Regions from separate parts of the Homo sapiens genome. Here regions 2, 3, 4, 5, 6 and 7 are each linked to region 1. Evidence: promoter capture Hi-C in human tissues and cell types (Jung and others, 2019). All regions are on one chromosome and are shown on one strand. The core of a region is centred on a gene start or on the middle of the fragment in contact, and the rest is flanking DNA. Distances in the headings are between cores, read along the strand shown. Region 1 holds the start of ZNF521 (zinc finger protein 521). Region 2 has its middle 61 kb from the start of LINC01915. Region 3 overlaps LOC105372028 (a long non-coding RNA gene). Region 4 overlaps LOC105372028 (a long non-coding RNA gene). Region 5 overlaps LOC105372029 (a long non-coding RNA gene). Region 6 has its middle 210 kb from the start of SS18. Region 7 has its middle 220 kb from the start of SS18.

Evidence for each region. The method cuts DNA at HindIII sites, captures the fragments that hold promoters and counts their contacts. A contact is called where the count stands out against the background at its distance.
Region 2: a fragment that was not itself captured here is called in contact with the fragment with the promoter of ZNF521 in region 1 in 1 of the 25 tissues and cell types used here (mesendoderm cells).
Region 3: a contact is called between a fragment that was not itself captured here and the fragment with the promoter of ZNF521 in region 1, in 1 of the 25 tissues and cell types used here (hippocampus).
Region 4: a fragment that was not itself captured here is called in contact with the fragment with the promoter of ZNF521 in region 1 in 2 of the 25 tissues and cell types used here (IMR-90 fibroblasts and neural progenitor cells).
Region 5: a fragment that was not itself captured here is called in contact with the fragment with the promoter of ZNF521 in region 1 in 4 of the 25 tissues and cell types used here (H1 embryonic stem cells, hippocampus, mesendoderm cells and 1 more).
Region 6: a contact is called between a fragment that was not itself captured here and the fragment with the promoter of ZNF521 in region 1, in 1 of the 25 tissues and cell types used here (H1 embryonic stem cells).
Region 7: a contact is called between a fragment that was not itself captured here and the fragment with the promoter of ZNF521 in region 1, in 1 of the 25 tissues and cell types used here (IMR-90 fibroblasts).

What each region holds. Positions count from the first base shown.
Region 1 is chr18:25,350,491-25,353,635 of GRCh38, forward strand. ZNF521 (zinc finger protein 521) reads right to left here and starts at 1,676. Exons shown (of 8, transcript NM_015461.3): 1 at 1,515-1,676; 2 at 417-457. The coding sequence starts at 456. RefSeq lists a silencer at 1,702-1,771. The HindIII fragment of the contact is 6,455 bases long and covers 1-2,674 here.
Region 2 is chr18:24,565,914-24,569,058 of GRCh38, forward strand. No RefSeq gene overlaps it. Among named protein-coding and RNA genes, the nearest start is that of LINC01915, 61 kb to the right of the region's middle. The HindIII fragment of the contact is 8,725 bases long and covers 1-3,145 here.
Region 3 is chr18:24,737,484-24,740,628 of GRCh38, forward strand. All of the region lies in intron 2 of LOC105372028 (a long non-coding RNA gene), which reads left to right. Among named protein-coding and RNA genes, the nearest start is that of LINC01915, 110 kb to the left of the region's middle. The HindIII fragment of the contact is 3,952 bases long and covers 1-3,145 here.
Region 4 is chr18:24,758,836-24,761,980 of GRCh38, forward strand. The region is part of intron 2 of LOC105372028 (a long non-coding RNA gene); the gene reads left to right. Among named protein-coding and RNA genes, the nearest start is that of LINC01915, 130 kb to the left of the region's middle. The HindIII fragment of the contact is 6,342 bases long and covers 1-3,145 here.
Region 5 is chr18:24,799,380-24,802,524 of GRCh38, forward strand. LOC105372029 (a long non-coding RNA gene) reads left to right here. Exons shown (of 3, transcript XR_935298.2): 3 at 620-967. Among named protein-coding and RNA genes, the nearest start is that of LINC01915, 170 kb to the left of the region's middle. The HindIII fragment of the contact is 5,844 bases long and covers 1-3,145 here.
Region 6 is chr18:25,883,684-25,886,828 of GRCh38, forward strand. No RefSeq gene overlaps it. Among named protein-coding and RNA genes, the nearest start is that of SS18, 210 kb to the right of the region's middle. The HindIII fragment of the contact is 5,297 bases long and covers 1-3,145 here.
Region 7 is chr18:25,866,616-25,869,760 of GRCh38, forward strand. No RefSeq gene overlaps it. Among named protein-coding and RNA genes, the nearest start is that of SS18, 220 kb to the right of the region's middle. The HindIII fragment of the contact is 4,091 bases long and covers 1-3,145 here.

The DNA.
Region 1 (3,145 bases), core at 426-2,925:
AAAAAGAAGCACCGCACGGTTTTGCATATTTATTCTTTGCGAAAACACACAACAGAAACTTTTTCCTCCAGCCCAGATGTAGATCTCAGACGGGATATTTTTTTTTCCTCCCTCTCCGGATAATTTCGTTTCTTTCTCTCTCTCTCTCTTTTTTTTTTTCGGTTGTTGTTGTCTTTTCTCGCCCACTTTCTACCGCCGCCCCATTCGGGGATCCTCCTCCCGTCTTCGTCTCCCCCCACCCCGACACCTCACCCTCACTCCACCTAGGGGCTCAGCGGGGAGGGGAGCGCGCGCGCCCCCGCACTCACACTCACACTCACGCGCGCACACGCCTCGCAGCCACGCAGCCCTCGCTCCGCTACCCACAGTGACACTCGCGGATGGGGGAAAGCGGGGAGCAGGGGGTTCCTCCTTACCTTTGAGGGATCTCGGTTTCGCTTGCTTGCGGCGAGACATCCTAAAAGCAAACAGCTGAAGTTGTTTCAATTCAGCCCTGAAAGAAACTATACTTCCTCGTGGCCGCGCGCCCCTCGGGCCGCGGCGCCTCGCGCCCTCCGCTCGGCCTCCCTCGCGCCCTCGCTCCGCGCTCCGCTCCTCGCTCCGGCTCCGGCTCGCGCTCGCGCGCGGGGCTCGCGGCTGCCCGAGCTCCGCGCTCTGCACGACGGCGGCGGCGGCGGCGGCGGCTGCTGCACCAAACTTTCCCAGCCTTCGACCCCCACCCCCAATCTCCAAGAAAAAAAAAAAAAAAGGAAAAAGAAAAAAGGAAAGGAGGGAAAAAAAGCTAAAAAAAAAACCCCAAAGACAATGTTTGAAGAGCCGTCAGCTACACTAAAAAGAGAAAATCCGTTACTATTTCCACCTCAATCAAAATTCACATAGTTCATGCGAATAGAAAAAAACTAATAAAAAGAAAAGCGTCTGGGTGATTTTTTTTTTCTTTACCGCTTTTCCTTTTCAACAAATCCGCCCCCCCCCCCACCGGAAAAAAACAAATAACACTGATTTGTTTACAAAGCGAGTCGTGCTCTTTTGTAGTTGGGGGGACGAGGGGGGGAAATCGACCCTGCAAGGCGATGAAAAGGTCTTGGAAAGAAAAATCTCCCACCATCCGAGGCAGATGCGAACGGGCCACGAAAATAAGCAAAGGGAAAAAAATACTTTTTTTCTCCCTTCCCCCCACCCTTTTTTTCTTAACCCACACTAAAGTAATTTCTTTCAAAAAGAAAAAGCCAAAGCACCCGAGCCGACGGCCCCCAGGTGGTGTGCGGGGCTGCTTGTGTGCAGGGGGTGTGCGGGGCCCGGGCTCGGGGCGCCCCTCTCTGGGCGGGGGCGCGGCGCCGGCGGCTGGCGCTGGACCGGGGCTCTAAAGTCTACGGCTGCCTCGGCAGCGGCGGCGGCAGCAGCGGCGGCAGCGGCGGCGGCAGCGGCGGCGAGAGCAGGAGGAGGAGGAGGAGGAGAGCCGGGAGCAGGAGGAGGAGAAGGAGTGTGCTGTGTGCTCCCTCCTCATCACAAACCTGCAAGGTCTTGGACTGCGCTGTCGCTCCGGTAGTCCACATAATAATGGAAAATGGAAGCAAGGCCCCCAAAGCCATCAGGATGGCTCCAGAGGGGGCCCCTAACCCGCAGGGACTCGCTCTGTACGTAATCACTGAGGAAATCATTGTCAGCCTGCCTGCACTCACACACAGACAGAGGGGCATGATTAAAAGGCGAGAGCGCGGGGAGCGGGAGGGAGGAGGGGGCCCGCCAAGACCCGGACTGGAGGCGCCGGCCGCGGCGCGCGGATCCGGAGCCAGGCGGCGGCCGAGCGCCCCGAGCCCCGCCCGCCGCCGCCGCCGCCGCCGCCGCCTCCCACGCGCCGCGCGCCCCGCCCGCTCCTGCGCCGCCGCCCCTCGCGCCGCCCGCCCGGCCGCTCGCACACCCCGCGCCGCCGCCGTCGCCGCCGCCGCAGCTGCGTTATTAGAGCTCCACGGCGGATCTCGGGGCTCTTCTGCTCGCTTTTTTTCCTCTTCAGAAATTAAAGCAGAGGAGCATCTGAAAGTGGAAAGGTCCCCCTTCTGGTAGGATGGATGTAAAAGGAGGCAACAATTTGTTCTTGAGGGGGCAAAAAAAAAAAAAAAAAAAAAGAAAAAGAAAAAGAAAAAGAAAGGAGGGGGGAAATTCATTGCTTGGCTTTTGCATTGTCGGACTTTAAAAAAGTGTGTCTGCTGTTGTTGCCCGGACTCGGGAAATCTTTTTTATGGCAACCGCAGACCTGCCAAGTCTCTCTTACTTGGAATCTTTATAAAGGCAAGTTATTTGGACTTTTTTTTTATTTTCTCGTTTAGAGAAAGTCATTGATGCTGACGAATGTCATAATGTGATTCAAAAGAGACAGCTTTGAGTTCACTTTTTTAACATTCTCAAATTGACATAGATCTTTGTCCAGAAAATAAAGCTTTCTGTTGATTTTTTCTTTAAGCAAGAGGTAAGGAAATATGCACTTAAGAATATGTGTACAAGAAAATAGTTTCTAAAATAAATTGAAATGTCTGCAGGTCGGTGGGAATTTTTGTTTCTTTTCGCAGTTTTGTTTTCTAACTTTTCACCTGCTCCCATCGCAAAACAAGAAACCATCACCTGTTTCCTTCTTTTACCTTATCTTAAGGGAAAGGATGTTTTAGTATTATTATTGTTGTTGCTATTTATTGATTGGACACGCTTGTCAAGTTATAAATGCCTGAGAGGGCTACCAAGTAGAGCTTAGATTCACAAGTCTTGGTGGAAATTAAGAGATTCAGAATACGGTTAATTACACAAAACAGGCAGAATTTTGTACAAATACTATTGTTCTTAATCAGATTTTAAAAATTCTCCGTTCTGTAAAATTAAGGTACAGCTATCTATTAAGCCACCATGCAAAGACATCAAAGCTTTAAGGAAGTTGTATTTTTTCCAGTCTAACCTGTAAACTGCCTGGACCCTCATGTGGATAGCTGCAAATACAGTATGTTTTTTTTCAATATCTTCATTATAATTAAATGAGTTTTCAATCCATCTGCAGTAATTCCTAAAGTGAAATCATAGTTGTAGTCAAATTTAACTTTGCATGACTGTGAAATAAAGCAACTTTTGTTGCAGAATCTGTGTTGGTACATTAAGGATT
Region 2 (3,145 bases), core at 275-2,774, 780 kb before region 1:
GAGAAAATGCCAATTTCAGAGACATTCAAAGTCTGCCAGTTTCTCTCACAGAACTTTGCAACAGGGATGATTTTGTTTAGGAATATATATATTCCTCTCTGAGATGTCCATTTGCTTTTACTAGCAAAGATTAAATGTTTAATCTTTAATGTTTAATATATATATGGATTTTTATTTAGATATATATGGCCTATATATATTTCTGTTTAAAGTTTGCTGAGAGGTTAATTTGCCATTCTAATTCACTATTCCTTAGTAAAAATTGGTTTGTCAGATAATTTGAATGGCACATCATAAAGCAGAGAGAGGGGACTTGAGGGAGTGGGAAAGTGAGTTTGGGTGGGGGAAGATGGCAGGCAAGATGCCTGGGACAGAGCTTCCTTCCGTCCCTCCGTCCCTCCTCCTCACTCCTTTCTTCCTCTCTGTCTCCTTCCCCTGCTGTCATGCATTCATCCAGTATTTGTGAAATAAGTACCAGATATGATATTGGGCACTGAGAATACAAAGATAACTAAGTGAAAATCTGGGCTCTCCGTGCAGCTGCAGCCAGCCACTGTAGACGAGGAGAGAGAAAGGCCATGTCACCAGTTGAGTGCTATGGTAGCCAGCAGAATCAGCCACCTCACCTGGACTTCCTGGGAGAGGGCTGCCTGTTCACATCATGAAGGTCAAATGCAAAGAGCCTGGCATGCTTGCGCTGTCTCCTGGGAATGGCAGCCCAATAAGTGGGGTGAGTAGCGGAAGGAACTCCAAGGTTACATGTGCCCCCACTCAAAAATGCCCACTGACCTGGAAACAGGCCACCCTACAAGTGTCCGGCGTGACTCTGCCTCTCCCCACCTGTGTGGCCTCAACCACATCTCATTACCTCTTGGGCCTCATTGCACCCATCTGTGCCTTGCAGGCCTTGGCTCAGATGCCCTGTCCTGGCATTTCCCATTTCCGCCTCAACTCTTTAGAGTGGACACAGTGGAGTGTGCGCGTCTCCATACTCACACTGCCTCAGAATCTAGGGTTCCGATAACTTTGCTGGGAGGAGTTTGAAAACCTTGCTTGTTGAAACCCAGTTTCACAATTTCCTTGCTTCACTTTGCAAAGAGCCAGGGCATTTTATTTGCTACCCACTGCTTAATCGTGATAACTCACAGCACAGTAAAGGTCTTATTGAGGAAGAAAAGGCTTTGATCACCTTTAACAACACTTGGAAATCACTCTAAGTGCCTCTGCTAATTCTTACCTCTTTTAATAGTGTTGATATGTTCAGTCACCTCTGTCCCACCCACTTACACACCCTGCCTAGGGTTCCTCAGGCACAGATGTTCACTGACTTAATTGTCTTAGAAGCTATTGTTAAAATAATGTCTGTGATATCAATAGTGTTGCGTGTCTGAGTGCAGCTTGTAGGGAAGGAACAGTGCTGTAAGCCCATGACTCAGGCCCTCATTCTGGGCCTGGAGCTTCCTTTCCCATCCCCTGCAGTGGAGACAGTGGAGTGAGAACCCAGCTCTGTTTCTTGGCCTAAGGGTATCAGTGAGTCGACCTGGCTGGGGGCTGGGTTGGGGAAGAGAGGGGCCATGACTCATGCACTCTTGTGCTTCTTTCAGGAGTATAAGAGAGACTTTCCCACTTGATCTCAAGCCAGAGGAGATCCTTGTTAGGCCACAACATGGCCTCCGTTCTCGTGTACAGCCCCACTCTGCCCACTCTGGGTCTGCTTTACATAGTGTCTCCTTTTTCTGTCTCCCAAGGAGTGAGATTCTGCCAGACTGGGGTGTTTTAAAATAGAGTGCCTTAGGCCAGGCATGGTGGCTCATGCCTGCAAACCCAGCACTTTTGGAGGCCACAGCAGGAGGATCATATGAAGCCAGGGGTTCAAGACCAGTCTGGGCAATATAATGGGACCCTGTTTCTATAAAAAGTAAAAAAGAAAAAAAAAATTAGCCAGGTGTGGTGGTGTGTGCCTGTAGTCCCAGCCACTTGGGAAGCTGAGTGAGGAGCATTGCTTGGGCCTAAGACTTTGAGGTTACAGTGAGCTATGATCACGCCACCACACTTCTGCCTGGGTGACAGATCATGTCTAAATATATACATATTTACTACCAGTTCCTAAGAAGAGGGGGCACACCATGCTGGTGGGAAGTGGGGTCGGAGGTGGGGGCACATGGGGAAGGACCAGGGTGTGTCAGGAGATAGATGGAGAGGGAGGAGCTGTTCACAGAGCCCTTATTGTGGTTTCTGTGGAAGGAATGGGCAAGAGAGGTTAAGCAGATTTTGGATAATTTTAGGGTAGCTTGAAGAATTTCAATGGGCTCTGGGTCATAGGTACTGTCCCTAGTTGTCTGGTACCTGGCTGTGGGGTGATTAAGGCAGGGGGTAGTGGCCCAGAGTGTGAGAGCTGGTAGAAGAGGTGGTGGGGGCTTTGGCTCTGGATTGGTTTGTATTTGAAAAGCAGCTCTCAGGAGGGTTGTTTACTCTCTCTAGGAACTGGCTAATCCTGGGAGAGGCAGTCTCTCCAAAGTCAGCAAGACCCCAGATGTCAAGTCATCCGAATACAGAAAATATGTGGTTAATATATGGGGACATTATCACCTAAGACCAGACCAGGGTCCTCGAGGCCACCTATCTTTGTTTCTTTCTTTCTTTCTTTTTTGAGACAGAGTCTCTCTCTGTCGCCTAGGCTGGAGTGCAATGGTGTGATCTCGGCTCACTGCAACCTCTGCCTCCAGGTTTCAAGCGATTCTCCTGCCTCAGCCTCCTGAGTAGCTAGGATTACAGGCATGCACCACCATGCCTGGCTAATTTTGTATTTTTAGTAGAGATGGGATTTTGCCATGTTGGCCAGGCTGGTCTTGAACTCCTGACCTCAGATGATCCGCCTGCCTCAGCCTCCCAAAGTGCTGGGATTACAGGCATGAGCCACCGCATCCGGCCGTATCTTCCCTTTCCTTCCCCCTCCATGCACTATCCATCGTCAGGGAGCATTGACCCTACTTCAAATACACATACTGAATCTGTCCCCTTCCCTCCAACTCCCCTGCTCCCACCTGGTCCAAGTCACTAGCATCTCTCATTGGGGTTACAGCAATATCTCCCAGCTGGTCTCTCTGCTGCTACTCTCAGCCTTTCTTGTCAACCTTTACTCAGC
Region 3 (3,145 bases), core at 281-2,780, 610 kb before region 1:
CAGGAAGGGCTTTGTGTAATCAGTTAATGCTCATATAGAAAGCTCCAGGGCAGCCCAGGGATGATGCGGGCATGTTCCAGTTGGTGCCTTTCCTCTGTATCCTGCCTCTCGCTCTCTTCTTTCCCTGCTTATTCCCACACTACTACTTCCCAGTTTAATAAAATGAGAGGAGGCTGAAGAGGAGCTGATGGGCAGGTGGCTCTTATGACGTTCCATCCCCTCCTTCTTGTGTCTTTGTCTCTGCAAAGATGTAGCCGACATTAAAGGGGATCAAGAGAGGGATCCCCTCTCCTGCTGGGCCCAAGTGAGTTGTGTTCTGACTTGTCTTCTGAGTGTCAGCCAGGATGCTTTTGGTTCTAAGGGACAGAAACCCCCATTCCCACTGGGTTAAACAATAAAACACAATTTTTGGCTCCCGTATTTGCATAGTCTGTAAGTAGGGTATCTTCAGGGTGTCTTCAATGGTCCAAAAGCATAAACCAGGACCCAGTCTCTTTCCTTCTCTCTGTTCCACCTTTTACATTATCAGCTTCATATTAGGACTGGATCCCTTCATAGTCACAGAATAGGTGCCAATGCCATTGGTGTGGCAATGTAACTCATTATCCATGAAGAGACAGAGAGAGAGAGAAAACACAAGTGAGCTTTTTTGTGTGTGTGTGGGGGTGGGGGCTGGGGGGTGGGAAGAGATGTCTCAAAACCATGAAAATAAACCCCAGGCATTTCTTTGTTGAATTAATTTAAGTTCTATATCTCAACTAATTGCTAAATTGGATGTCTAGGGAGTGTTGGGTGCTAATTGGCTTATGCCAACAAGACCTAGCCCTGGAGCTGGAGGAGAAAGCAGGTGGGTAGAGAAGGAGAGGTGGCTCAAATAACATGCTGCTACTCAACGTGGAAGAGATGCCCATTACCTGTTCTTATTCCTTCTAAATAAACTCTACTTCATCTTCATGATCCAGTGTGATAACCCATTGATCTGTCATGTACGTAATACTAGGATTGGCAGGTATTGGCTTTATGAAATCAGTAACCTGTATTGTTGGTTATTTGTATTGTATCCACAGAGGCTCCACAACTGTCTCCATTCAGGGCGGTTGTGTGCCTGGTCATCTTTGGTACTGTCTATGCGTCGGGTCTCAGTAACTTAGCAAAGGATCAAAGATAGTGCTTTTCTTCTTCACCTAACTGTGGTAACATTTTCCTGGAACAGAACTGACATCCTAAGAGTGAAGCTTATTGGAATCTGGTAGGATGATAAAGGTATATATGCCACATGTTGGAAGTTTGAGTTAGAGAAATTTATTCTGTTCTGGAGTATCTGCTTGAGATATGGGCCATTGGCAGAACAAAGCTGCCTCTTTAGACAGTGTGCTTCTCTGGGTTGAATTGGATATTTTATCAGTTCCTTTCTCTCCTTCCCCTTCTGTTACTTTATTTTGTACCAGAAAAGAGAAGGAAATCAATCCACTAGCACATCTGTGTTTAAATAGGTTTGGTTGTGAAACTTACAAGTGTACCAGGGACTGCATCTACTTCCTGCTGGAAAGCACAGAGGATGAGAAGAATTCTAGGACCAAGGCAAAAATAAAATACAGATTATCATTATTAAGTGCTTACATGGTTTACTAATGAAGCAAGTGAGAAGTGTCAGTTTAAATTTCCACTATCACGTGGCAGTGGTGGTAATGGTTCGTCAAATGATAATGATGTTAACTGCTTGGTTTTCTGATGGAGAGGTGAAAGCCAGCTCTTACCTCCTGCTTTAAGATATTCTAGCATTCTCTAGCAGTGAAAGAGTTTGAAATGGCTATCACTGAATTATGATCATCATTTAAAATTTTCTCCACTAATGAAAATTGAGATGAGAAGCAAGACCTGAGCATGCGCTTTTCCACCTGGAGAGCAAGAAGAGACCTTGGGGAGAGTAGCGGTCACCACAACTGTAGGTTCAAGTCCTCTTCATGGCAACTTGTAGGAGCTCCAGGCTTGTGATCTAGTGCAGAGCAGGTAATTGGGATTCCTGGAGGCCTGAGGGATGCCAGACTTGCTCACATCTTACAAGTGAAGAATAATTCATTCGCTCCTTCTCCTTAAAGGAGCAGGTTAACTTGGGTCTGGGTCTCTTAGTTCTTGATGTACTGATTTGTTCTTCAAATGCTTGCATTCCTCGCTCAAGCAACTTAACACTTACAAAATTTCTCTTGCCAAACAACCTCTCTTTGTTTTACACACGATTTCTGTAGCTATATTAATATATTGACTCACTTGTGCTAACCTGATGCAAGTCTGTTTCCTTAAGGTGAGTTTGCCTATCTCTGCTCTTATATGTGCCCAGTCGTTTTTACAGTCGAAATATCAGAAGGCAGTTTTCTAAGATCTTTTTAGGGTGCACCTTATTTTTGACTTTCCTATCTGTCCTTGACCACTGCGCTTTTCCTTTCTGGTTTCCATTGTATCACTTCTTCTTGGCTCCCCTTGAACTCTTCTCGATCAGCTTCACCTCCACAACTCAGTTATTGAGTCAATCAACTGAATGCCTCTCCTTCAGGTGTCTGCTCCAAGCCTTCTCTGTGTCAGATAGGGCTGATGTCATTTGGGAAATTCCTCCTGTAACAAGCTGTCCCTGGAGAACCCTGGCAGATTAGGGAGAAGCCAAAGCCGCCAGTCTCCTGCAGGTATTTCCCACTTTTTCCTGCATGGCTTGGCATTATTTTCCCCTGTACTCTCACCCCGTACAGTAGTCTCCTTCCCCGACCCTGGTCATCCTCCATGTTTACCTCTGTTTTGCAGGTTTGCTTTTCAAGGGCCAGCATTATGTGTGCCTTTGAGAAAACCACAAAACTTTCCCCTCAGAAGGTTCTCTCTGGGCACCAGCCTGACCATGCTGGTGGTTTTAGGGATGAACGGTACCAGAATATGCCATCTTGAAATGTGCCACTTTGGTATAAGGATTATTTTGAGTTAAAGACAATTGGGAACCTGCAGACCCAGGAAAAGTTCTTTGCCTCCTCCTGTCTAAAAATAAAGATTTCCCCCCACCCCTTTTTTAAAGGAAATTTATATTTATAAAGAAAATTTCCATGAGTAACATTGTCTCTCTATGGGGAAGAGTGCTACTCCCAAGACCTCTCTCATCACCAGG
Region 4 (3,145 bases), core at 403-2,902, 590 kb before region 1:
AATAGTTTTCCAGAGTGGCTGTATTATTTTGCATTCCCACCAGCAATGTATGAGACTCCTGGTTTCTCTATATCCTTACCAGCACTTGGTCCTATCTTTTTGTTTGTTTGTTTTTTATTCTAGTCATTTTAGTAGGTGTGTAACGGTGTCCTGGTGTGGTTTTACTTTGCATTTCTCTATTAACTAATTATGTTGAACAGCATGTCTTTATTTGTCATCAATATATCTTCTCTAGTGAAATGCCTATTTAAATATTTTGCCCATTTGTGTATGTGTAAGTGGTGTTGTTTCTTTTGTGGAGTTTTGAGAGTTCTTTGTATATTCTGAATACAAGTCCTTTGTAAGGTACATGACTTGTAAATATTATCTGTAGCTTGCCTTTTCATTGTCTTAACAATGTTTTTTACAGAGCAAGCATTTTTGTATTTGATAAAGCCATGTTTGTCTCTTTTTAAAAATAGGTTGTGCTTTTGGTGTCTTATTTAATAAGTTTGCATAGCCCAAGGGTTACTAGGATTTTCTTTTGGAAGTTCTATAGTTTTATATTTTATATTTAGATCTATGATCTAAATTTTTGTTTAAATCGTGAGGTACAGGTCAAGGTTCATTTTCTAACATGTGGATTCCAACTGTTTCAGCATCATTTGATGAAAGCTACTATGCTTTCTTTAATGAATTGTCTTTGCACCTTTGTCTAAAGTCAATCGGCCATATTTGTGTGGATCTATTTCTAGGCTTTCTATTGTTGCCCATTGATTTATGTGTCTAGCTCTTCACCAATACAACACTGTCTTGATGATTGTCACTTTAGAGTAAGTCTTAAAATAGGTTAGTGTGAGTACTCCAACTTTGATCTTCTTTTTCAAAATTATTTTAGCTATTCTAGTCACTTTGCTTTTTTATATAAGTACACGGATCATAGGTGTACAGTTTGCTTAACTTTTGGAAAAGTGAAAATCTCATGTAGTTACATCCAGATCAACACTGTATATTATCAGCATCCCAAAAGTCTATTTCATACCCTTGGTAAGTTATTACCTCTCCACTGCCCACTACCCACCTTTGCCCATAGAAAACATTAATTCTGACTTCTACACCAAAGATTATATTTGTCTATTTTTGAAATTTATACAAATGGAATCATGCAATATATTCTCTTGGATGTCTGTGAGATAAGACATCTCTGAAATTCATCCTAATTATTACACGTGGCATAGTTTGTTTTTTGCATTGCTGACAATAGTATTAATTTTTAATAATACACCCTAATTCATGTATATATTCTGTTTTAATAAGAAATTTGGGTATTTTTAAGGCTATTAGAAATATTGCTGCTAAATCAAACCACAATGAGATACCATCTCATACCAGTCATAAAGGCTATTATTAAAAAGTAAAAAAATAACAGATGCTGGTAAGGTTGTAGAGAAAAGGGAATGCTTGTACACTATTGGCAGAAGTGTAAATTAGTTCAACCATTGTGGAAAGCAGTGTGGCGATTCCTCAAACAGCTACAAACAGAACTACCATTCAACCCAGCAATCCCCTTACTGGGTATGTAACCAAAGGAACATAAATCGTTCTACCGTAAAGACACATGCACGCATATGTTCATTGCAGCGCTATTCACAATAGCAAAGGCAAGGAATCAACCTAAATGGCCATCAATGGCAGATTGGATAAAGAAAATGTGGTATATATGCACCATGGAATACTATGCAACCATAAAAAAGAATAAGATCGTGTCCTTTGCAGGAACATGGATGGAGATGGAGGCCATTATCCTTAGCAAACTAACACAGGAACAGAAAACCAATACTGCATCTTCTCACTTATAAATGATGAGAACACAAAGAGGGGAACAGCACACACTGGGGCCTGCTTGAGGGTGGAGGGTGGAAGGAGGGAGGGATCAGAAGACATAACTATTCAGTACTAAGCTTAGCACCTGGGTGATGAAATAATCTGTACAACAAATGCCTGTGACACAAGTTTACCTATATAACAAACCTGCACATGTACCCTTGAACCTAAAATGAAAGTTAAAAAAAGAAATATTGATGCTAGAACGTATTTTTACATATCTTAGTGAATATATGCATACATTTCCGTTGAGTTGCCTAGAAAAGAAATTGCTGGGTTATGGAATCGCTTATGTTTAGCCTTAGTCTATATTGTCCAACAGTTCTGCAAAGTGACAGTCATAAATGTAGCCAGTAAATTTAGTCAAGTTTAGGATCATAAGTTTGTTTGTATTAACTTCTTTTTAAATATTTCCAGAATCTGTAGTGATAGCCTCTTTCTTGTTTTTAGTATTAGTCATATGTGTCTCATTCTCTTTTTTCTTGATTAGTCCTTGCTAAATATTTATTAATTTTAATAGTATTTTCAAAGATTTGTTGCCTTTTTTTCTATTAGATGATTCCTTTCTATTTCAATAATTTTTGTTTTTATTTCTATTTTTCTCCTACCTACCTCCTTCTTTCTCTTGGGTTAATTTGCAGTTTTGCTAACTTGATGTGAATACCTGTGTTAGAGATGGTAAGTTTTTTTTTTTCATTTCTAGTTTATGCGTTTAAGACTACAAAATTCCCTCTAGCCTGTCTTTACTTGCAATAACATGTTTTCATCTAGGGTCATTTTCCTTGTGCCATTGTTGTTGTTGTCCCTGCTTGTTAAGTGCTCATTTGAAACTGTCTGCTTAGCCTTTATTTTTGAAAGCTATTTTCCTTGTGTACACAATTCTAGGTTGGCAACAATTTTCTTTTAGCTCTTTAAAGACATTTTTGTTCACTGTTTCTATTGAAAACTCAGCCATAGATATTGTATCTCTCTGAACATCATGTGTCTGTTTTCTGTCTCTTTATAAGATACTCTTTTTAGTGTTTGTGGGTTAGCTTTATCTGTATTTATTTTGCTCAGAATTTGTAGAATTTCAGTTTACTAATATCTTTTGCTTGTTTTGGAAAATTCTCACAATGTCTCTTCTGTTCAATTATCTCTCTCCTTTATAGACTACAACTACACTTATGAAAGTTATTTTCATCATGTTTCATATGCCTCTTAAGCTCTTTTTCTGTGTTGTTTATTCTTTCCATTTCTCTGAAAAGTATCAACCTGAATATTTTCTACTGATATACATTCC
Region 5 (3,145 bases), core at 206-2,705, 550 kb before region 1:
AGAGGGCACAGTTGCCCTGATGAAGGCACAATCAAGATGGGAAACAAGAATTTTGTCAGCCACTTCCATGGACCCCCTATTTTGCTGCACAGTTCCTCTTTCATGCCTCTTACCCTGCTGTGCTCTCTCTGTCCGTCAGACTCTGCCTGCCTTCCCCAAGTCCTTTCCTCCATAGAGCTGTACCCTACTCCCACTGCAGTCCTTCCATATCTTAGCCCCTGCCTGCCTTTACCTTGGCCTCCCCTACCCCTCCATTAAATCCTACCTCTCCCGTGTACCATTTTATTGGAGCCTGCCCTTTGCTCAGTGATAGCTGGCTAATATGAGAAACTAATCTGTTTTAATGTTTTAATGTGTTACCACTCGCTAGCCTCTGCTAGCAACTTAATGAGATTTTGAGTTTTGCTTGTCTCATCACAGGTCCTCTATTCAATTATAAACTCGGTGAGGGGGAAGTGCCATTTGCTATTTCTTCCTTAACTCCCATAGCAGCCACAGAGTGCTGGACTCGGAGTACTCTACATTGACGTTGTTGAATGAATTAAAGGAAGGGGGAAGTAGGTGGCTAGACCTGAGTGGAGAGAAGGTAAACAAATACTATGACACAGTTGTTTTTCAGGTAATGCCAGTAAAATAGATTGGCAAGAGAAACTGGCAAGTCCTTCCTAAAAAGAAGTTTCAAAATAACCAGAGAGCATGCATGAACTCAACTCAATCTTCAATAAAGTTTGCTTTAACTAAACAGCAGCAACAAAACCAATAATACTATACATTAATTATTTGGCTAAAAACCGGTCCTGAGATCAAAGGTTTCTGGTGTGTGTTCCATCTTTAAGAGTCCAAAGCAAAAATGCAGACAAAATGTATGTGTCATTAACCCCCATGGGTACTGCAGAAATGCATTACCTGCAGGTTTGGTGAATGTAGTTTCTTGCAAGTTGAAATACAGGGAATGAAGAATCCAGCATGGCACTGCCCAGTAGAACTCTCTGTGCTGGAAATGTTTCTGTCCCTGCCCTGTTCAAGACAGTAGCCACAGGGCACTTGAAATGTAGCTAGCAGGACTGAAAATTTAAATTTTTTCACTTTCATTTAATTTTACTTTACAAAGTTAAAAAACAACTTCATATTTAAATAGCCTTACATCATTTAAATAACCTTCTTACTTGAAGTGTTCTCCAAAGATTGGGAATTCTGGGATAATAATAATTATGTGATTTTTAGACAATAATAATTATATTATTTTGAATAATTTTTTTATTACATGACAGAATAATATCTACTATTAAAGATGCGGAATCTCAAGATCCATCCATGAGCTACTGAATCTTCAGTTTAATAATGTTCCAGGTGATTCCTAAACACCTTAAAGTTTGAGATGTCCTTCTCCAGATCAATGGATCTCATCCCCATTCGAATCACCTGGAGAACTAGAATCACCTGGATGGTTTTAAAACAGTTCTGATGCCTGGTCTCCACCATGGGCCAACTGAATCAGAAATCAGCTTGGCCACCCACTAGTCTGAGGAAGGAATTCTCCTTAGAATTTGTTTAAGAAACTTAAAAAGGTTGGAGTATATATGCAATAAGGAAATGAAAAGGATTGAATGACACTTAAAAATGTAGACAATTTTACATCAAAGAGCCACAAGTATGCATGTTAGTCTCAAATAGTGTACTCAGAAAAGAGGAACACAGCTGTCATATTGAAAATATTCTCTTTACCCATCAAAATCAGAAACACTCTTAAGGCATGATAAGTGGTTAGTTTCTCTTAGCCTAGGAGGCCTGGTCTTGGTTTGGGGAGCATTGGGTTGGAGCTTATGTGATGTTAGTGCCCAGGCAGCCAAGGAATGTTACTAGTTTTAAGAGTCCAGGACTGTTCAGTCAGGGTGAAGTTGAGCACATTGAGCCCAGTAAAAAAGGAAAGGGGGGGTTGAGAAGATGACAGATGACTCCAGGGCGCTTGAAGAAATTCATGTGACTCCAGGAGACATGAATTTCCATGGGAACCATGTGCTAGGATATGTGACCCAAAGTGAAGGATCAATTTTTCAGACACCAAAGACACACACAAACAAGTCCTAGCTTCAGGCAGAGAGGAGCAGGAGAGTCCTCATTCGTGTTGGTCAGAAGATTTCAGTGGGAAAGGCTGTCTGCAGGCTGTACCTTTTTACTGAGAGGACTTAGATTTGGGAACATCCTCACTGCTTTCCATCCACCATCCAAGCTCAGTGAGCCTAGAACACCATTCAAGGAATGTTCTGGGCCCTTCTCTTGGGCTGTATTTGGGAAGGTAGGAAGTTACTATGGTGATTGAAAACAATCCTCTTTCTGATCTCTTCCTTTTCTGATAAGGAACACGTTTCATTATGATTTGTGCTGTAAAATAATTACCTTTTTGTGCTGAAGTCAAAATTTTCAAAACAGTATTGTATAAATGAGGATTGAAAAGGTAAGTTTCATAATGGACCAGGAATAGGCCTGCAGACCATGGGAAGGGGTTGAATATGCCATGCTGGAAGGGTACCATGGAATAAACCACCTACTTAGATAAGGAAGGTCAAAAGGGGCATTCATCCTGATTGCAACTAAATTCAACAATAAGTTTTTATTAAATAGTTGCAGAGTGCACACACTGTTCAGGTACTGGAGATACAGTGGTGAACAAAACAGAAAGTCTTATGACCTCTCGTTACTTACCGACTAGTCAGTGGCCCCAGATGTAAAACATGCAGATAAATAAATATATATTATAATGAACACCTACAAATTGAGATAAGGCCTCTAAAAGAGAATTACAAAAAAGAGAACACAGGAGGCTGGTAATTTAAATTTTGGCAGAAAGGATTAGAAAATAAGATGGTGGGTTTCACTTAACAGTCAGAAAGCCTCATACAGATTTGGACCCATCAGAAATAATGACAAACCTAACTATGAATGGTCAATTAAAGATGAGGATTAAAAATACATTTATGCACTAGTTAAGGAAGGGTTGAGAATAAATGCAGTGTCAAACTGAGGGGCCTAACCCACTATGAGCAGAATTAAGTGCTCTTGGTCAAAGATGACAGAGAAGGTTGAAGCTGAGAAAACTCTTCTAAGGTGGGGAGTGAAAGGATTTGTTGGTCAACAGTGAAGCTCA
Region 6 (3,145 bases), core at 336-2,835, 530 kb after region 1:
TAATGGGCAAGCCTTTGGTAAACAATTGTTAGCCTACTGTGAGTCAAGTAAAATCTATTTACAGGTAATTGTTCAGCATGATTGGTTTTTGCTTGTGCATGAATTCAAAGCTCCTTCAATCCTGGTGTCTTTCAAAAATAAAAACAAAAACCTCAGCCCATAAATGAAATTAAACAACTTTCCCCTGAAATTTTTGGAGTCCCAAACTTGAGTAAGTATAAGCAACATCAATATCTATTTCAGCAAAAAAGAAAAGAAAAATGTGAATACAATGCAAACTTCAATTTTACAGGGTTATTTTTCTTTCTTCTGCCTTTTTTTAAAAAAACTACTCTGTTCAACCATTTTTTTTACCCTGTGCCAAAGAATAGGGGGGGAAGAGTAGGGGGGAAAATTAAAGCAAAAAGTGGCATTTTGTTTTTGTTCAGTGCACCTTTACATGCTTATAAAAGTCCATCTTCAAAAATCTTACCCACTGAAGGGAAGCAGAGCAAGATGGCCAAATAGAAACCTCCAGCAATCAGCTCCCCTGCAGGAACGCCAAATTAAACAACTTTCCACACACAAAAAAAGCACCTTTATAAGAACCAAATTTCAGGTGAGTGATCACAGTACCTGGTTTCAATATCATATGAAGGAAAGGGTAGGTAAGGCAGTCTTGAATTGCCTACACCACCCCTCCCCAGCCCCCAGCAGCAGCGGCATTGTGCAGACAATCTGCGTGGTTGAGGGAGGGAGAGCACAGTGATTGTGGGTCTTTGGATTGGAACTCAGTTCTGCCCCATCACAGCGGAAAGAAACACGGGGCAGAGCTCAGCCAGCAACCATGGAGAGAGCATACAGACCAGCCCTCACCAGAGGGGGATTACTCATCCCACCAGTCAGAAACTGAGTTCTGGCAAGTCCTGCCACCATGAGCTAAAGTGCTCTGGGGTTCTAAATAAACTTGAAAGGCAGTCAAGTCCACAAGGACTGAAATTCCAGGGCAAGTCCTGGTGCTATAGTGAGACATCAGCCTAGTGAGGCAAAAGAGTGTTTGTGTCGCCCCTTCCCCAGTCCCAGCCAGCACAGCTTGCAGCTCCAAAAAAGACTCCTTCCCTCTGCTTGAGGAGAGGAGAGAGTGAAGAGGACTTTGCCTTGCAACTTGGATACCAGCTCAGCCACAGAAGAATAGAGCACCAGGCAGAGTCATGAGGCCTTCCTTCATTCCAGGCCCTAGCTCTCAGATGACATTTCCAAACATGCCCTGGGCCAGAAGCAAGCCCACTGCCTTGAAGGAAACAACTCAGTCCTGGCAGAATTCACTACCTGCTGACCAAAAAGTCTTTGGGCCCTGAATAATGACCAGTGGTAGCCAGGAGTACTTGCCATGGGCCTTGGGTGGGACTCAGAGCTATGCTGGCTTCAGGTATGACCCAGCACATTCTCAGCTGTGGTGGCCATGGAGAAAGAACCCTTCATCTTGAATAAAGAAGAGGGAAGGGTCAAGGGGCCTTTGTCTTATAGCTTGGGTTCCAGCTCAGCTGCAGTGGGGTAGAGGAGCAAGTGGGCTCCTGGGGTCCTCGAATCCAGGCCTTGGCCCCTGGATGGCATTTCTGGACCTGCCCTGAGCCAAAGGGGAGCCCACTGCCCTTAAAGGAGAAACTCAAGACTGGCAGCATTCACCACAAGCTTACTGAAGAGCCTTGGGCCTTGAGTGGACATTGGTGGTAGCCAGGCAGTATTTACTGTGGGCCTGGGTTAGTGATGGGTATGGGGAGAGACTCTTCTGCTTTAGGAAAGAGGATGGAAGAGTGGGAATAACTTAGTCATCCAGCTTGGATGCCAGTTCAGCTGTAGTAGAATAGAGTAGCAGGTTGATTCCAAAGGTTCCCAACTCCAGGCCCTGGCTCCTGGATGGCATCTACAGACCCACCTGGGGGTGAGGGGAACTCATTACCCTGAAGGGAAAAACACAAGGCTGGCTGCATTTGCCACCTGCTGATTGTAGAGCCCTAGGGCCTTGAGTGAACATTGGCAGTAGCCAGGCAGTAGTCACTGTGGGCCTTGGGTGAGAGCCAGTGCTGTGCTGGCTTCAGGCCTGACCCAATGCAGTCCCAGTGGTGGTGGCCACAAGGGTTCTTGTGTCACCCCACCCTCAGCTCCAGGCAGCTCAGCACAGAAAGAGAGAGAGACTCTGTTGGGGGAAAGTAAAGGAACAGAACAAGAGTCTCTGCCTGGTAATCCAGGGAATTCTCCCTGATATTACCCAAGACAACCAAGACAGTACCTCTATGAGTCTGCAAGAGTCACAGCATTACTGGGTTTTGGTTGCCCCCTAAAGCAAATACAGCTTCAGTGACCAAAAACTTAGATCACAACACCCAAGTCTCTTGGAATATCTGGCCTTCCCAAGAAGAACAGGTACAAACAAGCCCAGACTGTGAAAACTACAATAAATACCTAACTCTTCAATGCCTAGGCACCAACAAATACCCACAAGCATCAGGACTATGCAGGAAAACATGATCTCATCAAACAAACTAAATAAAGCACTAGTGGTCAATCCTGGAAAGACAGAGGTACATATGTGACCTTTCAGACAGAGAATTCAAAATAGCTGTTTTAAGGAAGTTCAATGAAATCCAAGATAACATAGAGAAGGAAGTCAGAATCCTATCAGATACATTTAACAAAGAGATATAAATAATTGAAAAGAATCAAACAGAAATTCTGGAGCTAAAAAATGCAATTGACATATTGAAGAATGCATCAGAATCTCTTAACAGCATAATAGATTAAGCAGAAGGAGGAATTAGTGAGTTTGAAGACAGGTGATTTGAAAATACACAGTCAAAGAAGACAAAGGAAAAAAAGAATAAGAAAGAATAAAGCATGCCTATAAGATCTAGAAAATAGACTCAAAAAGGCAAATCTAAGAGTTATTGCCTTACAGAGGAAGTAAAGAGAGAAATGAGAGAAATTGGGGTAGAAATTTTATTCAAAGGGATAATAATAGAGAACTTCCCAAACCTAGAGAAACATATCAATATTCAAGTACAAGAAGGTTAGAGAATACCAAACAGATTTAACCCAAATAAGACCACCTGAAGACATTTAATAATCAAACTTCCAAAGGTCAAGGATAAGAAAGGATCCTAAGAGC
Region 7 (3,145 bases), core at 272-2,771, 520 kb after region 1:
AAAATGTTGAAAATTGTCCACTTTACAAATAAATGCAGAATTGTCTAGAATTCCATAAGAATTCTAAAAGAACTGAAAAATAAGAAAGAATTTTTGTTCTAAAACTGAGCTATTTTAAATGCTTTTTGTTATACAAGCTATAAGATCCCATTATTAAAAATGTATAAAATAGAGAAAAGAAAATCCACCCGTGGTTCCACCATCCAAACATAGTCACTGTGATGAAAAAAACTCTCGACGTTTAAAATTACCGAGAATCTGTTTTCCTGCTATAGAAAGAACTGTTTCTAAATTGTCAATGAGCTAATAAAAACCACAAAGTTCAGTGATAACAGGTAACCAGGACCCAAATAATGATTAGTTCTTCATAGTAGCATCAACAACATACTCTCCATAGAGCCCTCCCCATCCCAACCTTCAAGACATAATCTCAACCCCTTTCCTCCATTCTATTCCTTCTCCCTAGTTTCTCTTTCTCTCTCCCTTTCTTAATTGGCTATAATATAATTACAACTTATGCTGATTGAGCCCTGTGCTGAGCACCCTGTGAGTAGGTACTATTATATTTTAATGTTACCAGTGAGAATCTGGAAGCTTAGAAAAGGAGTGTGGCCAATTGTTATTATTGTGATCCCAAATTTATTCACAGCTCTCTATATGTATGCCTATTCAAAAAGTGGCATCTATTTCTCTAGGATTCTTTTTTTTTTTTTTTTTTTTTTTTTTTGAGATAGAATCTTACTCTGTTGCCCAGGCTGGAATGCAGTGGTGCAATCATAGCTCTCTACAGCCTCGAACTCCTGGCCTCAAGGGATTCTCCCACCTCAGCCTCCCAAGTAGCTAAGACTATAGGTGCACACCATCATGCTTGGCTGATTTTTTTTTTAAGAGATGGGGTCTTCCAGCTTCATCCATGTCCCTACAAAAGACATGAACTCATTGTGGGGTGGGGGGAGGGATAGCATTAGGAGATATACCTAATGTAAATGAGTTAATGGGTGCAGCACACCAACATGGCACATGTATACATATGTAACAAACCTGCACGTTGTGCACATGTACCCTAGAGCTTAAAGTATAATAAAAAAAAAGAGATGGGGTCTTGCTATGTTGTCTGAGCTGGTCTCAAACTCCTGGCCTCAAGCCATACTCCCACCTGAGCTTCCAAAAACATTGGGATTACAGGCATGAGCCACAGCATCCAGCCTTCTAAACCTTAAATTTGGTCTTAGTCATGTGAATTAATTTATTTCATGGGACAATAGCAAATGAGACATAAGTCAAGGCTTGATAGATGCTTGCTCATTGGAGCTTACCCTCTCTTGCTGCTGAGAACTTTCAGCCACCATATAAAAAAACCCAGCCTAGCCTGTTAGATGAAGAGAGAAGACATAGAGAAGGGCCCTACCCAAGGCCCTAGACGTGTGAGTGAGCCCAGCCAACACTGTGTGGAGCAAAATGATGCTGTCCCAGTTGAACCCAGCTGAACTGTCAACCCATCAAATCATGTACAAATACATCGTGATTTTTTTCAGCTACTGAATTTTGGGATAGTTTGTTACACAGCCAAAGCTAACTGACACAAGTATTTTGCTAAAAGTCACACAGGCAGGATTAAGATTCAAGCCCAGATGGCCTTTACTCTAGAGCTCAAGTACTTAACCCCATGTTATACTGTGGAACTCCCATGAATCTAGTTGGTACCATGCATGTAATCAATGCCCAACCATGATGCAGAGTCCCCTTAAAGACAAACATAATGATGAGTTATCTGTCAAGCTGGGGCCAAAGATGGGCCCATTTCCTGTGTTGCCGTTAGTAGCTCATTTTTAAATTCAGGCCAGAGGCACCTGGGAAATAATTAGCTGCAGTGTTGCTGTCCTCCCATAACAAATTTGAGGGCAACTCTTTATTTTTGCTAAAGCTAAACAGTTTGTGGCAACAAATGTTACTTACACTTTTCTAGGAATAGAAATGTATTTACTTTTAATCAGTTGGGGACTCATTAGTGAGGCTGTCTTTATCTCCCTGAGTTTTTGCCTTCTTTGCTTGTTTTTATTGTGGTTTTGTTTTTGGTTTGTTTTCTGCTTTTTTTTTTCTTTTTGCCCTATATTGGTGTTTTCTTTGTTTTCTACAGAACCCTCTGAAATAAACTATAATGGGCTGAACAAATCAGAAACTGAAGCAACGTCAATTGCAATTTCAGAGTCAGCCCTTATAATCTACCCGTTTCCACAATCCTTCCCTATGCCTTACAAAAATGAAGGAATAACTGATAATTTAAAATCAAAAGGCTAAAATTCAAATAATTGAGCTGTATGAAGCATCAATCTGGTGCAAAGCCACTAATGAGAAATTCTGGTAAAGACCATACACCAAAGCATTTCTCAGAAACATGAAGCTTTTAAAATATTTTTCCACAATAACAGACTCTGAAAAGATTTACAGACGTAAAACCAAACAGAATGAAATATTTTGTTATATAATAAACTAAGGTCATGTGGAGAAGCAAATTTGGGTTACTAAATCTGAAAAACAATTATCACTATAACTAACTTGGGTAGCCTGAAGTGAATCAGTTTTTTTTTTTTTTCTCTTATTTTCTCTACCTGTAAAATGGGTCTCATAACCGTTGTGTTTTGGAATGATCAACAGTAGTGTTTCAGATAGTATGACTTGGGAAAAGTCTGTCTTTGAAATTCCAGTGATTCTTAAGGATTTTTTTTTTTTTTTTTTTTTGACAGAGTCTCGCTCTGTCGCCCAGGCTGAAATGCAGTGGCACCATCTCGACTCACTGCAACTTCTACCTCCCAGGTTCAACTGATTCTCCTGCCTCAGCCTCCTGAGTACCTGGGATTACAGGCACCCACCACCACACCAGGCTATTTTTTGTATTTTTAGTAGAGTCGGGGTTTTGCCACATTGGCCAGGCTGGTCTCGAAATCCTGACCTCAGGTGATCCACCCCCCTCAGCCTCCCAAAGTGCTAGGATTACAGGCGTGAGCCACCACATCTGGCCAACTTACGCATTTTTAAAATCCTGGGTCTTCCCAGAATTCTACAATGACCCTCCTAACACACACACACACACACACACACACACACACACACACACACACACACTCTGTCTCTCTCTGTCTCTCTC